Regions from separate parts of the Homo sapiens genome. Here regions 1, 2, 3 and 5 are each linked to region 4. Evidence: promoter capture Hi-C in human tissues and cell types (Jung and others, 2019). All regions are on one chromosome and are shown on one strand. Each heading gives the region's core, a stretch centred on a gene start or on the middle of the fragment in contact. The rest is flanking DNA. Distances are from core to core; before and after follow the strand shown.

Region 1 (2,700 bases), core at 93-2,592, 1.1 Mb before region 4:
GTTTTATTGCTTATCCAAGATCTTTTTCCTCTCCCCTGCATCCAGGGACGTCCGTGAAGTCATGTCCCCTGAATACCCCTGGAGAGTAGTACTGTGTGTATCTGTCTATAAAAATCTCTTTTGCTTGTTTTATTGGAGACACTGAGGGCTTTGGATTGTCGTTGTCTCAACCAGGAATGATCCTGTACTGCCCCAGCTCCCCAACCCAGGCCGGCATTTTGCAATTTGCAGAGTCATTTTTGGTTGTCAAAACAGATGGGAGCTTTTACTGTCAGCTTGTGGGGTAGAGACCAGAGATGCTGCTAAACATCCCGTAATGCACAGGGCAGCCCCACAGCAGAGAATCACCTGGCCCCAAATGTCAGTCGCGCGGAGGCTGGGGAACCCCGGTGGAATATTCTGTGCTATGCTGTAGTAGCTGGGGTTTGTTTTCCTAACCAACAAATCCAAACAGAAAAGCATCGGGGATGCTAAGCTGGGTTGGAGCAGAAGTAGTTTGGGAAATTCTTTTGTTTCTATGACATTAAGGACTTTTTTTAAAGGGATGCATCCCATGTTTTTGGCTTCTTTAAGGCAACATGGTATACAAATACAAGTGCAAAGAGTATCTTCAGGGTATACCACAAAATCATAATAATCCAGCAATATCAATTACCACTTGGGGGAAAGGGGTCCTACTATGTTTCTCTCTTAGAAATAATAAAAATATTCATTGACTGAATGCTCACAGCTGCTCTGCAGCCCTGCTTCTGTCCCTTTTCATTTGTAAGCTTGGAAAATAAAATTGTCCTTCCTAGTCTCCTCATTCCTCATTGCAACATGAAAGGGGTGAATCTAAATAATGTCTTGTTTCCATTCTATTTGTAAGAGCCCATAAAATTGATAAACTACTTATAGATTTTAATTAATATGATTAAAAATAACTGATTTGGCTTCATTTTCTCCTTCTCATTTGGGTGTTTTGACACCATCCCTAGAAGGTTTTCCAAGACTCCTCTGAGAAGTCCATTTTTGGAACCTAGAAAGTATGGGAATAGAGTCTGTGAGACTGGACATTTCCTTACTGTTTACTGGGGGGTCGAGGCAGGTAAATTCACTAGAATGGGATCAACCATTAGCCTTGAAAACAATAAAGGCATATACTTCTGCCCATCCATCCATCAATCCATTCATTCAATCCTCCATTCCTTCATCCATCCATTCATCCCTTAATCCATTCATCCATCCCTCCGTTCCTTCATCCATCTATCCCTCCATCCATCCCTCCCTTCATCCATCCCTCCCTCCATCCATCCCTCCCTCCATCCATCCCTTCCTCCATCCATTCCTCCTTAATCCATTCATCCATCCCTCCATTCCTTTATTCATCTATCCCTCCTTCCATCCATCCCTCCATTCATCCATTCCTCCATCCATCCCTTAATCCATTCATCCATCCCTCCATTCCTTCATCCATCTATCCCTCCATCCATCCCTCCCTCCATCCATTTATCCCTTAATCCATTCATCTGTCCCTCCATTCCTTCCTTCATCTATCCTTCCATCCATCCATCCCTCCATTCATCCATCCATCCCTTCATCCATCCATCCATCCATCCATCCCTTAATCCATTCATCCATCCCTCCATTCCTTCATCTGTCCCTCCCTCCCTCCCTCCATCCATTCATCATTTAATCCATTCATCCATCCCTCCATTCCTTCATTCATCTATCCCTCCATCCATCCATCCATTCATCCATTTCTCTATTCTTCCATTTACACATATGGATAGAGACACATCTGAAATATAATTAACTGAAGGTTAGAGTAATTTCTAGATGCTGGGCTACTGAATGATTTTAAAACTTTCTTCTTTATAATTTTCTCTATTACTTAAATACAGTAAGTATGAGTCATTTTAACAATGAAATTATTATTTTTTAAAAGGAAGGGGATGATACGGGATGAGCTAATGGATGCTTTTCAACAGTCCAGGAACACTGTTTTGATAGTTGAAAAGAGTGGTTCTCATCTTTTATTAACTCCATTCCGTCAAGTTAAAAAAAAAAACTGGTCTATTTTCAGTTTTAGGCCTGGGTTGATTGATGTACATTTTTAACTTTGAGACATGCATGTTTAATTATAGTTTTCCACTGACCTCAGTGTTTGTTACTTATACTATACATTAGCTAAAAGTAGACACTATTAATTATACAGATTTGTTTCAGGATTTCTTGGGGGCAGGATTTTGCTACATACTTTGGGATGCCTGGTGATGTGTGAGGTGCTTCCACACTTTCTAATTTCAAATTTCAAGGATCTTCAGTCTGGCTGCAGTGAAAAGAAACTAAAAAACTGACTTCGCAATTCTAGCATTGTAAAAGACATGTACATACAACTGTCTCTCACCTTCATGACATCCTTGGTGAACTCTTATGTATCTTTTAAACTGCTGTTCAAATGTCGCCTTCTCAATGGAGCCCTCCTTGACCACTCCCTTGTGAAGTTAGAGGATTCTTCCTTTGAGTAAGAAGTTAAATGTTTCACTTTCTTCTCACAATACCCTGTATTGTACTTGGAAATAGAAGTTACCACATTGCTGAAATTATGTCCTAAGTATCAGTCCTTTCTACTGGATTTTGAGTTTCCAGAGGGCTAGGACCAGGATTCATGGGTCTTTGTGTTCTTACAGTGCCTCAATTGCTCACCAGGAAGTGGGC
Region 2 (2,700 bases), core at 176-2,675, 1.1 Mb before region 4:
AAGCAGTTCTCTCTACCTGGCATTATTTTTTAAAATTGACTTAAGCTTTGCCCCCTCTTGGAAGCATTCTATTACCCCATGTCTGTCTTCAAGATGAATTCAGCTTCCTGCTCTGTTGTCCCATAAGTATCCTGGGCATAGTTCTGCTCTGGGACTCATCACCTATTGCTGAAATCCTTTTGTTTTCTTACCTGTTTCCTACTGAACAGAGAGCTTCTTGAGGTCCAGCACTGGGGCTTAATTTGATTCATTTAGTAAGTTTTTGTTGGGAACTTACTATATATGAAGCACTGGATTCAACTCTGGGAACTCAAAAGTGAACAGAATGTACACAATTCTGCTCTCATGGAATTTATAGTCTACTGGAGTTAGACAGACATTTTAAAAAATTATCATACAGGAAATTGCAATGAGTAATTTTGTTGGGTACTATGGAGGGAAATCCTTTAAGGGCCCTGTTTGTTTCTGACTTTAAAGCACTAGCAACAAATTGGCATTAACTGATTATGTGATTTGAATGGAATTGAGGATCTCAGCGTTGGCCCTCCGTCCTGCTGTTGTCAACTCTCCCAAGTTTTTAAATGCCAAGTTGTAGTTGCCTTTGTTCCGCTAAATTGAAAAATTTACCCCGTGCAAATGAATAACTAAATTCATATTTTTTTGAAGAATTCTATCTAAATGGAGATTTGATGGCTTTCAGAAACCTTTAAAACTTCCCTTTCCCCCATATGAATTCCACTATGGATTGACATATGGCATATTTTCAATGTCTAGTTTTTGTAATTAATTGAAGGCTCACTCTGTCTGAGAAAGAGAGTGCTTTGGCATTTCCGAGACCTGTGGATTCCATCCAGAGTACCACACAGCAATGCAGAGACTCCACTGCCGCTCACCTAGCTAGGAGGCTGCAGCTCTGTTTGTGAAATGTTGCTATTCAGCTTTCAAGTTTATTGGGAGCACTGAGTTCCAAGGATAGCAATTAGGTTGTTCTGCATTCTTCGGCTGGCTCAGGATGCACGTGCTGAGACTGCACATCATAGCAACGGCTCCTTGACTGCCAGGGAGAACAGTGTGAAAGCTTTCCGTGGCTCATCTCAACCACCTCCTCCTCGCCCCTGGCGCTCCGCAATCCTCTCTACTCCTTGGTGATACCTTTTTAAATCTCCCCATTATGTTCAACAGCATGTCAGCTGAGAGTTCAGGCTTACGAGATCATGTCCAATAGGCCAAAGTGTCGAAAATAAATGTTAGCTCATAAAACATACGTGGCACATCTATAGGGCCTGAGGAAAGCCCACACAGAGAAAAAAATCTTAAGTGAACTTGTTTAACCCAGCAGTGACAGGTACAGGAATGGGATTTTCTTTTTTTTTTTTTTTTTTTTTATTAAACAGAGTTTTTCCAACTTCCAGGCTGGCAAAGAAGTTGTAAAGGGAATGTACATTTTGCACCGTAATAGAAAGAGATAAGTAGGGATTTTTCCAAGATTTGGAAAGCTGGTCTTCGTAAGTCCATTTATTTATTCAACAAAAACTTTATGAAGTATCTATTACATGCCAGGCACTGTACTTGGCATTTGGGATAACATAGTGACTGAGAAAAGATTTGCCCTTGAGAAAAATCACAGCCCCTTTGGAGGGACTGACATTAACCATTTAATCACATAAATATGATTTTTCACACAGTAATAATAGCTATGAAGATTAAAAAGCTAGATCATAAGATACGTGGCTATAAGAGAACTCCCTGATAGGGTGACATTTTAGATAAGTCTCAAAGGGTGAGAATAAACTGTCTACATGAAGAACAAGAAAAGAACCTTTCAGTCAAAGGAAATAGCAAGTGCCCAGACCCTACTGAGGAAGGCCTGGGGAGCGCCCAAGAATCCTGTGTTAATCAGGGTTCTCCAGAGGGACAGAACTAATAGGATAGATGTATATATCAAGAGGAGTTTATTAGGAGAATTGACTCACAATTGCAAGGTGAAGTCCCACAATAGGCCATCTGCAAGCTGAGGAGCAAAGAAATCAGTCCAAATCCCTAAACCTCAAAAGTAGGGAAGCTGACAGTGCAGTCTTCAGTTTGTGGCCGAAGGCCCAAGAGCCCCTGGCAAACAAGTGTTGTAAGTCTAAGAGTCCAAAAGCTGAAGAACTTGGAGTCTGATGTTTGAGAGCAGGAAGCATCCAGCACAGGAGAAAGATGAAGGCCAGAGGACTCAGCAAATCTGCTCTTTCCATCTTCTCCTGCCTGCTTTATTGTAGCTGTGCTGGCAGCTGACTAGATGGTGCCCACCCAGACTGAGGGTGGGTCTGCCTCTCCCACACCACTGACTCCAATGTTAATCTCCTTTGTCAACACCCTCACAGACACCCCCAGAAACAATACTTGGCGTCCTTCAATTCAATCAAATCGACACTCAATATTAACTGTCACAAATACGAAGGAGACCATTCTGACTGGGGTTGAGAATAGGGTGGAGAGAGTCAGGGCATGAAGCCATGGGGGAATAGGTTTGCTGGAATTTGAAAGCCATGAGACAGAGTGAGGAGTTCCTTCCAATTGAAAGATTTTAAGCAGCAGAATTCAGACATGAACTTTGGCTGGGTTTGGAATGGAGTGCACCTCTGTAAGACTGAGGTGCACCATTTCCCCGTCTGCCAAAATGGAGCAGCTGACAGCAGCTTGCTTGCAAGGGTCTCC
Region 3 (2,700 bases), core at 166-2,665, 1.0 Mb before region 4:
CTCCATCCTAAGAAAATGGAAAACATTGAAAGGGCTAAAGGGGGTGGTAGTTTTTTATGGGATGATCTTTCACCTTCATGGGTTCAGGAGTCCACATCAAATCCCTTATGGCTATGCCGAGTCTAATCCCTAGTCGTGCAAAGTATCTCTTCTCTGTGTTCCATAATCATCTGTTGTTCAGTTCAGGCATTTACAGTATTGCTGGAGCCAAGTAAAGCATGCACAAGTGCAGTAATAAGACAGACATTTTCAGGGCCGGGGGCAGTGGCTCATGCCTGTAATTCCAGCACTTTGGGAGGCTGAGGTAGACAGATCACTTGAGACCAGGAGTTCAAGACCAGCCTGACCAACATGACAAAACCCTGTCCCTACTAAAAATACAAAAATTAACTTGGCATGGTGGTGCACACCTAAGGCATGAGAATCTCTTAAACCCGGGAGGTGGAGGTTGCAGTGAGCTGAGATTGTGCCACTGCACTGCAGCCTGGGTGACAGGGCAAGACTCTGTCTCCAAAAAAAAAAAAAAAAAAGACATTTCAGTTTGCCCTTTCTAGATGAACCATGTGGCAAACTACACCTCTGGAAACATTTTTCTTTTGCTCACCATAGGCCCATCTTCTTTGAATGTACATCTTCATCTATATATTCCCTACTCTTAATCTATTTCTTTATAAGGTGCTAATAGGCCAGGTGAAAATTTCCACTAATCTATTAATAAAAGCAGACCAGTGATAGGCTTTAAGAATAAAGTCATGATAAAGTTAGCAAATACAGAGGGGAAAGAAACAGCAAAATGTTTGGGGTTTTTTGTTTGTTTGTTTTCGAGAACATTGCTACTTGGTTCCATTAGACTCCTTTGATTGTACATGACAGAAACCAACTCTGGTTATTTTCAGCAAAAAAAAAAAAAAAAAAAAAAATAGGAGGTAATGCAAGGCTATCTGATGGAGTGGTATTTGACTTGAGAGCTCATTATTGAGGAAAAACCCAGCCAAATGAATGTCTGCGGAATGAGTGTTCTAGGCAGTGCAAAGATCCTGAGGTGAGAGCAAAAGAGGTGTGCCACAGGGTTGGAGGAAAGACCCATGGGTGGGAGGAGGGTGAACATGACGGGGAGCACTCAGACTGATGAGACAGGGCTTTGTAGCTCATGGTAAGGAGTTTTAATTTCATTCTCTGTGATAGAAAGCCTTACATGTGTAGTAGTCCGTTTTCACAGTTCTATAAAAATACTACCTGAGACTGGGTAATTTATAAAGGAAAGAGATGTAATTGACTCACAGTTCTGCATGGCTGGGTAGGCCTCAGGAAACTTACAGTCATGGCAGAAGGCAAAGGAGAATCAAGTAACTTCTTCATAAGGCAGCAGGAAAAGAGAGTACAAGCGAAAGAGGAACTGCCAAACACTTATAAACCCATCAGATGTTGTGAGAACTCAACTCACTATCATGAGAACAGCATGAAGGAATCCGCCCGCATGATACCATCACCTCCCACCAGGTACCTGCCTCAACACGTGGAGATTATAATTCCAGGTGATATTTGGGTGGGGCCACAGAACCAAACCATATCATAGGGTTTTAAGTAAATGAGTGATATTATTTGAGTTAGAGTAGAGAAATATCACACTTCTATAAACAATTACTATATCTCAGGCACTGTATATCCACCTTAGGTCCTTTTCCTTTAATCTTCACCAATGAATGGGTACAATTATTATCACTTCTCAGATTAGTAAAGTGAGGCTTAGGGAGGAAAAGCAACTTGTTTGGAGTCACATAGTGACTATATGGCAAATCTGAACCTCAACCCTTGTCATCTGCCTCCAGTTCCTGGCTCAAAATACTCATTAAAGGCTCATTTTTATTGCCATTGTTTATGATGTTTATTTTTCTAACCCTTCCAAGAGTGTTTTGTGGATTGCATTATTCTTTTCTTCTCAATTTTATAAATAAAAGAGACTCGCCTCAAAATCACAACTGAAGGAAAAAAATAACAAACTTGTAGTTTCCTCTAAAGAACTTCACGGACACCCAGCTCAGAAGAATTTGGCCCGGCCAGGGATGGGGCGGGGAGGGAAGGACTGGCTGCCGCAATGTTTTGGGTTCGGCCATCCCATTTGTGAGAATTAGGAATGTTCTTTGGACAAAAGATCAAACACAAGCTTACTCCTTTCTATGCTGAGACGTTGCCCACTCGCTTCCTCTTTTGTATCTTTCCTGGTAACTCGACTTCAGTTTCTCTGATGGTAAAGAGATGAGATCAGCCACTAGGGGATCGGTCGATGGGATCAGGTTTCAGTCATCAAAAAATTACGTCAAGTGCTAAGCATGAGTTACCTTCCACTGCCAGTGTCAGCCCAGGACGTGACTGCAGGGCCATCAATCCTGCCTTCCTTGTCCTTGTAGATGTTAAAATACAGGGTACTCTGGGAATTCATTAGTGGGGGTGTTGCATGGGAAAGGAGGGGCTATGCTCCAGGAAAAGTGGGTATAGAGGCAGAGATGTAGCTTTCTAATGCTGTTACCTTGCACATTCTAACTATTAACTGCAGAGACATCTGCTGATTGTTTTCTTTACAAAGCGGGGGAGGGGGAGAAAATAAGAAAGTTAATTTCAGAGTTGGAAGCAGGTTTAAAATGACCTTCGTCAGTTATAAATATAACATCTACTTACTTTTAACCAGTTTATTTCCAATTC
Region 4 (2,700 bases), core at 162-2,661:
GGTACGCTGACTTCAGAACCTCATCCTGCCCAAGAGTCTGAACACCACAGTTGGTACAACCCTGTTTTGGCGTTTCTTTGATGGGAGGGTGTGGCCCTGCCCTGTTGCCAGAGAGAACGCAGGTGCTGGGTGCACAGCACGGCTTTTCCGTGGACCGACTCTAATCTGTACAAGAGCTCAGGGTTGCGATGGCACGGGAGAGGGGCTTTGGTATCCGCCCTACGTAAGAAGCTTCCAACCCCAGGGAACTCTAACTCCGCCTCTTCACAATTTCCAGGCGCCGTCAGGCTCATCAGGTCTGGCCGCATGCCCAGGTCCCTCGGATTGGACTCACAGGATCAGCAGCCCGTAGCCTTCTTTGCGGTAGTCGCGATAGGCCTTCCACGGTTTGATCTCCAGCCGCTGCGGGTACGCGCTCTCGGTGCGGTACAGCGCTTCCAGCAGGCATGGCGAGCCCAGGTGCACCGACTCAAAGGAACCCAACTTCATGCGGAAAATCTTGCCATACTTCTTGTGGTACTCCACCTGCAGCCGGCCGGGCACAGCGCGGTGTCAGCGCGCATCCTCCGCCGTGCCCGAAGCGCTTTCCCTCCTCCCGCCTCCTTCCTCCTAGGGGACCGGGGACCCTCCCTGCCCAGACGCCGAAGCGCACCATGCGCCCGAGGCGCGCATGTCGGGGAGGGTTTGGAGCGCCACTGGGAGGGCGGAAGAGGGAGGAGAGAGTCAGGGGCGCGAAAAGGGGTTTACCAGGGTGTCGTGCTGTTTCTTGAGACCCCCTTTCCAGAGAATCTGCAGCAGGCTGCCCAGCAGTGGCCAGCTGGTGGGGCCCGGCAGGGCGGCCGCGTTCTGAGTCTCGCCACCAGCTGTCAGCGGGCAGACTGGCACCTCTCGCGGCTGAGGGGACGTGTACGCCGTAGATGTCACCAGTCTCGGGGGCTGCCTCGGACTGCGCAGCTGCTGCAGGAAGGCGGCAAGCGAGCGGCTCTTGCTGATGGGGGAGCTCATGGCAGCGGGGGACACCGGAGCGCGGGAAGGCAGGAGGATGGGGTGGGGCGAGGTTGGTACGAGGTGCTAGTGGGAGTCGGGGCTTAACGATTCTGGGAAAAGGAAGCAAAGAGGGCCAGCTGGTGTGATGGAGCGGGGTGAGGCGGGACAGGCAGCAGAAAGGACCTCGGCGAGGATGCTCGACGCTGCACCACGCGACAGCCTCAGAGCATTGGTGCCTCCTTGCACTGGCCGCAGGGGCTGGAAGAGGGTGGCCGGTGTCTGGGGACCTCTTGAAAAGGGAAAGCTGGGAGTCCTCCTGTTGGTCCGCAAGGCTGACCTCTAGGGTCTGGCTGGAGCCACGGGGAGGTGTCAAGGAGGGTAGATGAGATGCTGCTGGCGCTGCGTTTCCTCCTGTCCCTCTCCATGTTCCTATGCCCAGGGACCATGCATTTATGGAGACAGAGCATGCCCTGGGTGGCCAATGAGCACGCAGAGGAGGGCGGAGTGGCCCCCGGCTGGCCAGACTCCGAGGGACGCGGGACCCAGGGGAGGGGGGGTGGAAGGAGGATGGAGTCAGCGAGGTGAGCGAGGGCGTCCGGGCCTGGGGTGACCGGGGCTATGTTCGCTGGGCGCGGGAGGTGGGGTGGGGGCGGCAGACTCCACCCCGGAGATAACCCCCAGGAAGTCATGCGAAGCCCGGAGTTCACCGGGTGTGCTTCGAACGCGCCTCCCCGCCCTCCCCCGGCGGGCAGGAGCCGGCAGCGGCGGCCGTGGTTGCCGCCCGGCGCTTGCACAATCGCGATGCCGGGCGGGCGAGGTCCCCGAGTGCGGGCCCAGAAAAGCTGCCGGCGTCTGCCAGGGCCCCGGGGAGCCCGGGCGCCTCCCGGGGAGCCAGATACCCCCAGCCTGGACTGAAGTGATTTTTTTTTTTTTTTTGCCTTTTTTTTTTTGGAGGAAGTTTGGCTTTCTGCGCCTCCCAGGGTGGGGAGGATTTGAGTCTTACTGAAATGCACCAGAAGAGGAGACTTTCTTAACTTGAGCAAGAAGGGGAGTTTGTAGAATTTCCTTCCTGCTGTTTCATGTTTGGTTGTTTTGCAGATTAAATGAATTAATGCACGTAAAGCGGCAACAACGAAGCCTTGTCTATAGTCAACAGTCAATAAAAGTTAGTTGCTGTTGTTACTTCTTTAGGAAGTTAGGAAATGCGCCTTGAGAGCGTGGCTTGCACCAACGATGCTTGAATTCAGGCTGGGCCACCTCCCCTATGTCCACTGCCCGCCTCTGTTCTTCTACACCGACTACCTTGTGCAAAGGAGGGGCACACAGAGCTTGAAACCACCGCCCCCAGTACTCCCCCTCTCCCCCAAGGTGCGTCCTAGGCAGGTCCAGTGACAAACATACACAATTTCTAGAGTTACCGCGGCTGGCAAGAGTAGAACTCGCTTTGCTAATTCAGGAACGGAAGTTGGAGATTTTTGTTGATTGTTTTAAAGTGGCTCGAATCCTTTCAACCTGATCCAATACAAAACTACCACCAGCCAGGGAGGAGGGGAGGGACATTCTGTTTCCTCGCCCTGCTTTTCAATTACGTGTCTCAGTCATTTTTGCCCCAAGTGTTGGCAAATCCTTCCCTGGTAAATTCTTTTGTAAGCCTCTAGTTTGTTTCTTAAAAATCTTTTGCAGTCCAACTTAAGCTTTAACACCATCATTTCT
Region 5 (2,700 bases), core at 26-2,525, 1.9 Mb before region 4:
AACATGGTGAAACCCTGTCTCTACTAAAAATACAAAAATTAGCTGGGCATTTTGGTGCATGCCTGTAATCCCAGCTACTCGGGAGGCCGAGGCAGGAGAATCACTTGAACCCCGAAGGTGGAGGTTGTAGTGAGATGGGATCGTACCACTGCACTCCAGCCTGGGCGACAGAGCAAGACTCTGTCAAAAAAAAAAAAACCATCCTCTCCAAAAATCCCCATAAACTCCCACTTTTCTGTCTTTAAGATGAAGGACACCATGCTAGGCATTTAGGACTTGGTTTGGTTGACACTATGGGAATTAATCTGCCAATCTCTGAACTTCTTGACCACAACATCTCTGTTGCTACACCTCAGCCCTGTTGTTTGAAAGCAGCCATGAACAAGGCATAAACGAATGGGTGTGGCTCTGTTCCAATAAAACTTTACTTATAAAACCAGGCAGATGTGGCCCACCGGTCCTAGTTTGCTGACTACTGCCATATAAGATCAAAATATGCTCATTCCCCCTTCTAGTGTCATCTTCCACCTTGTATTAGTCCATTCTTGCATTGCTATAAAGAAATACTGAAGGCCGGGTGTGGTGGCTCATGCCTGTAATCCCAGCACTTTGGAAGGCCAAGGCGGGTGGGTTACCTGAGGTCAGGAGTTTGAGACCAGCCTGGCCAACATGGTGAAACTCGGTCTCTACTAAAAATACACAGAACAATTAGCTGTGCATGGTGGTGTGCACCTGTAATCCCAGCTACTCAGGAGGCTGAGGCAGCAGAGTTGCTTGAACCTGGGAGGTTGCAATGAGCTAAGATTGCACCACTGCACTCCATCCTGGGTGACAGAATGAGACTCCATCTCAAAAAAAAAATATTAACAAAATATTATATATTTTATGTACTAAGCCTTTCAAATCTGATGTATATTCTGTACTTGCAGTGTTTCTAGATTTTTGGACTAGTCACCTGTCAGATCCTCACTGGCCATGGTGACTACCATATTGGACAGCACAGGACTATAGAGTTTGAGCTTTTGAAGGACAAGGACAGGTTGATGTCCTGGTGACTGACTCATAAGCATTTCTTCAGTGGTGGCTAACTACCTATCTTTGGCCAACCTTCCTTGTGTTTCAGTCTGCCAAAGTTTTGGGATAAACCATCACTGTCAAAATTTATTGGTACTCAAGGGAAAATCAAGCTTTTTGTGGCATCACACAACATCATAAATTAAAACATATGCTTTAAAAAATTATGATGTTACATCATGCTTTGAGGTAATGTAATGTGACAGATTGTAATTTTTATTTTTGTAAGATTTCCTCAGTGTAAAGCAGGAAGTGGATTTGAGAAGGTTTGCAGTACCCAGGACCTCTGAATCAGGACCACATTTCCAGGCTGCCACAGTGTTGGTGCTTGGTACATCAGGCAGCGGTCTCTGCTGGGTCCTTAGTCTTCTTTTCTGTGACCCTCCTGTGGTTCATTTGGATTCTATGTTTATCCTAAGAATCTCCCAGGGATCAAGAGGGTTCTTTGCAACCTAATTCACTCTACTGGGCTATATGATTTTGGAACTAGAGTTTCCATTGGTTTATGTAGAATGACTGGCAAATTTTGTCTCAAATGCAAATTAGATTGGTTTTTAATGGTTGTCTGGGGTCTTAATGCTAAGAAAACTTCTGAGGATGCCTCTGCATTCATGTAAGAGATGACGTTAGTCAACCAGCAGTGTTTGCCATGGGCTTGCAAAGGGGTAGAGGCCGTTTATACAATATGTATTTGACCATCCTGACCTAAGTGTCTGTTTCTTGCTTCTTGGATGGGCACGTAATGGGAGTTTCTTTAATTGGGCTAGGAACAGTGTCAAAGGAAGGGCAGGGGTCCTATACATGGGTTGAACTTAGTGGCCAGTTTACCCAAGGCAGTTTGGGTGAGTGAAAGGCCCCAGCTGTGGTCAGTGCCTAGCAGAGCTTGTTGTATGGGAAGCAATGCCTAGTGCTAGGTTCAAATGTTGAGGCCAGGATAAACGTTAAGTCTGGAAGCCAGCAGGAATAAGGGAAGACTAGAATAAGTTATATAAAATAACAGGAGTAAGCAATTCTGACTGGAGGAAAGCTGGCAAAGCAATGGGTTTCATCTCATGGTAATCCAAATTGCTTAGTAGTGTCTGCCAAGAGCTCTGTGTTGGAGGGCTTCTGGATTGTGCCAGGGACTGGGGAGGCAGGAAGTCATGATTGATTGGTAATGTCTGCCATGAGTGTGGGAGCTACGCAGGACAGTACACATGCTACATATTTGCAATCCCTGATTTAGAGGCATGGTTATGCTGGAGTTCACACAGAGAGAGAGAGAGAGGCATGGTTGATTGGTAATGTCTGCCATGGATTTTGGAGTTATGCAGGATGGCACACATGCTACACATTTGCAATCCCTGATTTAGAATCATGGTTACAGTGATGGCTTAAGAAAATTCCCTGGTTGTCTTTGACATACGCATATTTTGTTTTCTCACCTAATATTTATTTTTTCACTTAATAATTGACCATTAGTTGTCTCGATCTGTGTTGGGGTTTAGTCATATTCATTGAACTATAATAAAATGGGTCTCCAAAGAACACAAGTTAGACAGTGGTAAGTGCCATTGAGTAAGTGGAGGAACTGGGGGGTTAGCAATGGGTTCATGAAGGATGTGGCATTTGAATGGGGTATTGGAG

What was found. The method cuts DNA at HindIII sites, captures the fragments that hold promoters and counts their contacts. A contact is called where the count stands out against the background at its distance.
Region 1: a contact is called between a fragment that was not itself captured here and the fragment with the promoter of CYP24A1 in region 4, in 1 of the 25 tissues and cell types used here (small bowel).
Region 2: a contact is called between a fragment that was not itself captured here and the fragment with the promoter of CYP24A1 in region 4, in 1 of the 25 tissues and cell types used here (spleen).
Region 3: a fragment that was not itself captured here is called in contact with the fragment with the promoter of CYP24A1 in region 4 in 1 of the 25 tissues and cell types used here (spleen).
Region 5: a contact is called between a fragment that was not itself captured here and the fragment with the promoter of CYP24A1 in region 4, in 1 of the 25 tissues and cell types used here (spleen).

What each region holds. Positions count from the first base shown.
Region 1 is chr20:53,071,720-53,074,419 of GRCh38, forward strand. All of the region lies in intron 1 of TSHZ2 (teashirt zinc finger homeobox 2), which reads left to right. Among named protein-coding and RNA genes, the nearest start is that of TSHZ2, 100 kb to the left of the region's middle. The HindIII fragment of the contact is 3,396 bases long and covers 1-2,700 here.
Region 2 is chr20:53,087,957-53,090,656 of GRCh38, forward strand. The region is part of intron 1 of TSHZ2 (teashirt zinc finger homeobox 2); the gene reads left to right. Among named protein-coding and RNA genes, the nearest start is that of TSHZ2, 120 kb to the left of the region's middle. RefSeq lists a silencer at 760-986. The HindIII fragment of the contact is 4,369 bases long and covers 1-2,700 here.
Region 3 is chr20:53,160,234-53,162,933 of GRCh38, forward strand. The region is part of intron 1 of TSHZ2 (teashirt zinc finger homeobox 2); the gene reads left to right. Among named protein-coding and RNA genes, the nearest start is that of TSHZ2, 190 kb to the left of the region's middle. The HindIII fragment of the contact is 3,854 bases long and covers 1-2,700 here.
Region 4 is chr20:54,172,575-54,175,274 of GRCh38, forward strand. It overlaps CYP24A1 (cytochrome P450 family 24 subfamily A member 1), which reads right to left and starts at 1,412. Exons shown (of 12, transcript NM_000782.5): 1 at 748-1,412; 2 at 335-525. The coding sequence starts at 1,005. RefSeq lists an enhancer at 1,042-1,635. The HindIII fragment of the contact is 4,712 bases long and covers 1-2,700 here.
Region 5 is chr20:52,320,002-52,322,701 of GRCh38, forward strand. The region is part of intron 3 of LOC105372666 (a long non-coding RNA gene); the gene reads left to right. Among named protein-coding and RNA genes, the nearest start is that of ZFP64, 130 kb to the left of the region's middle. The HindIII fragment of the contact is 6,006 bases long and covers 1-2,700 here.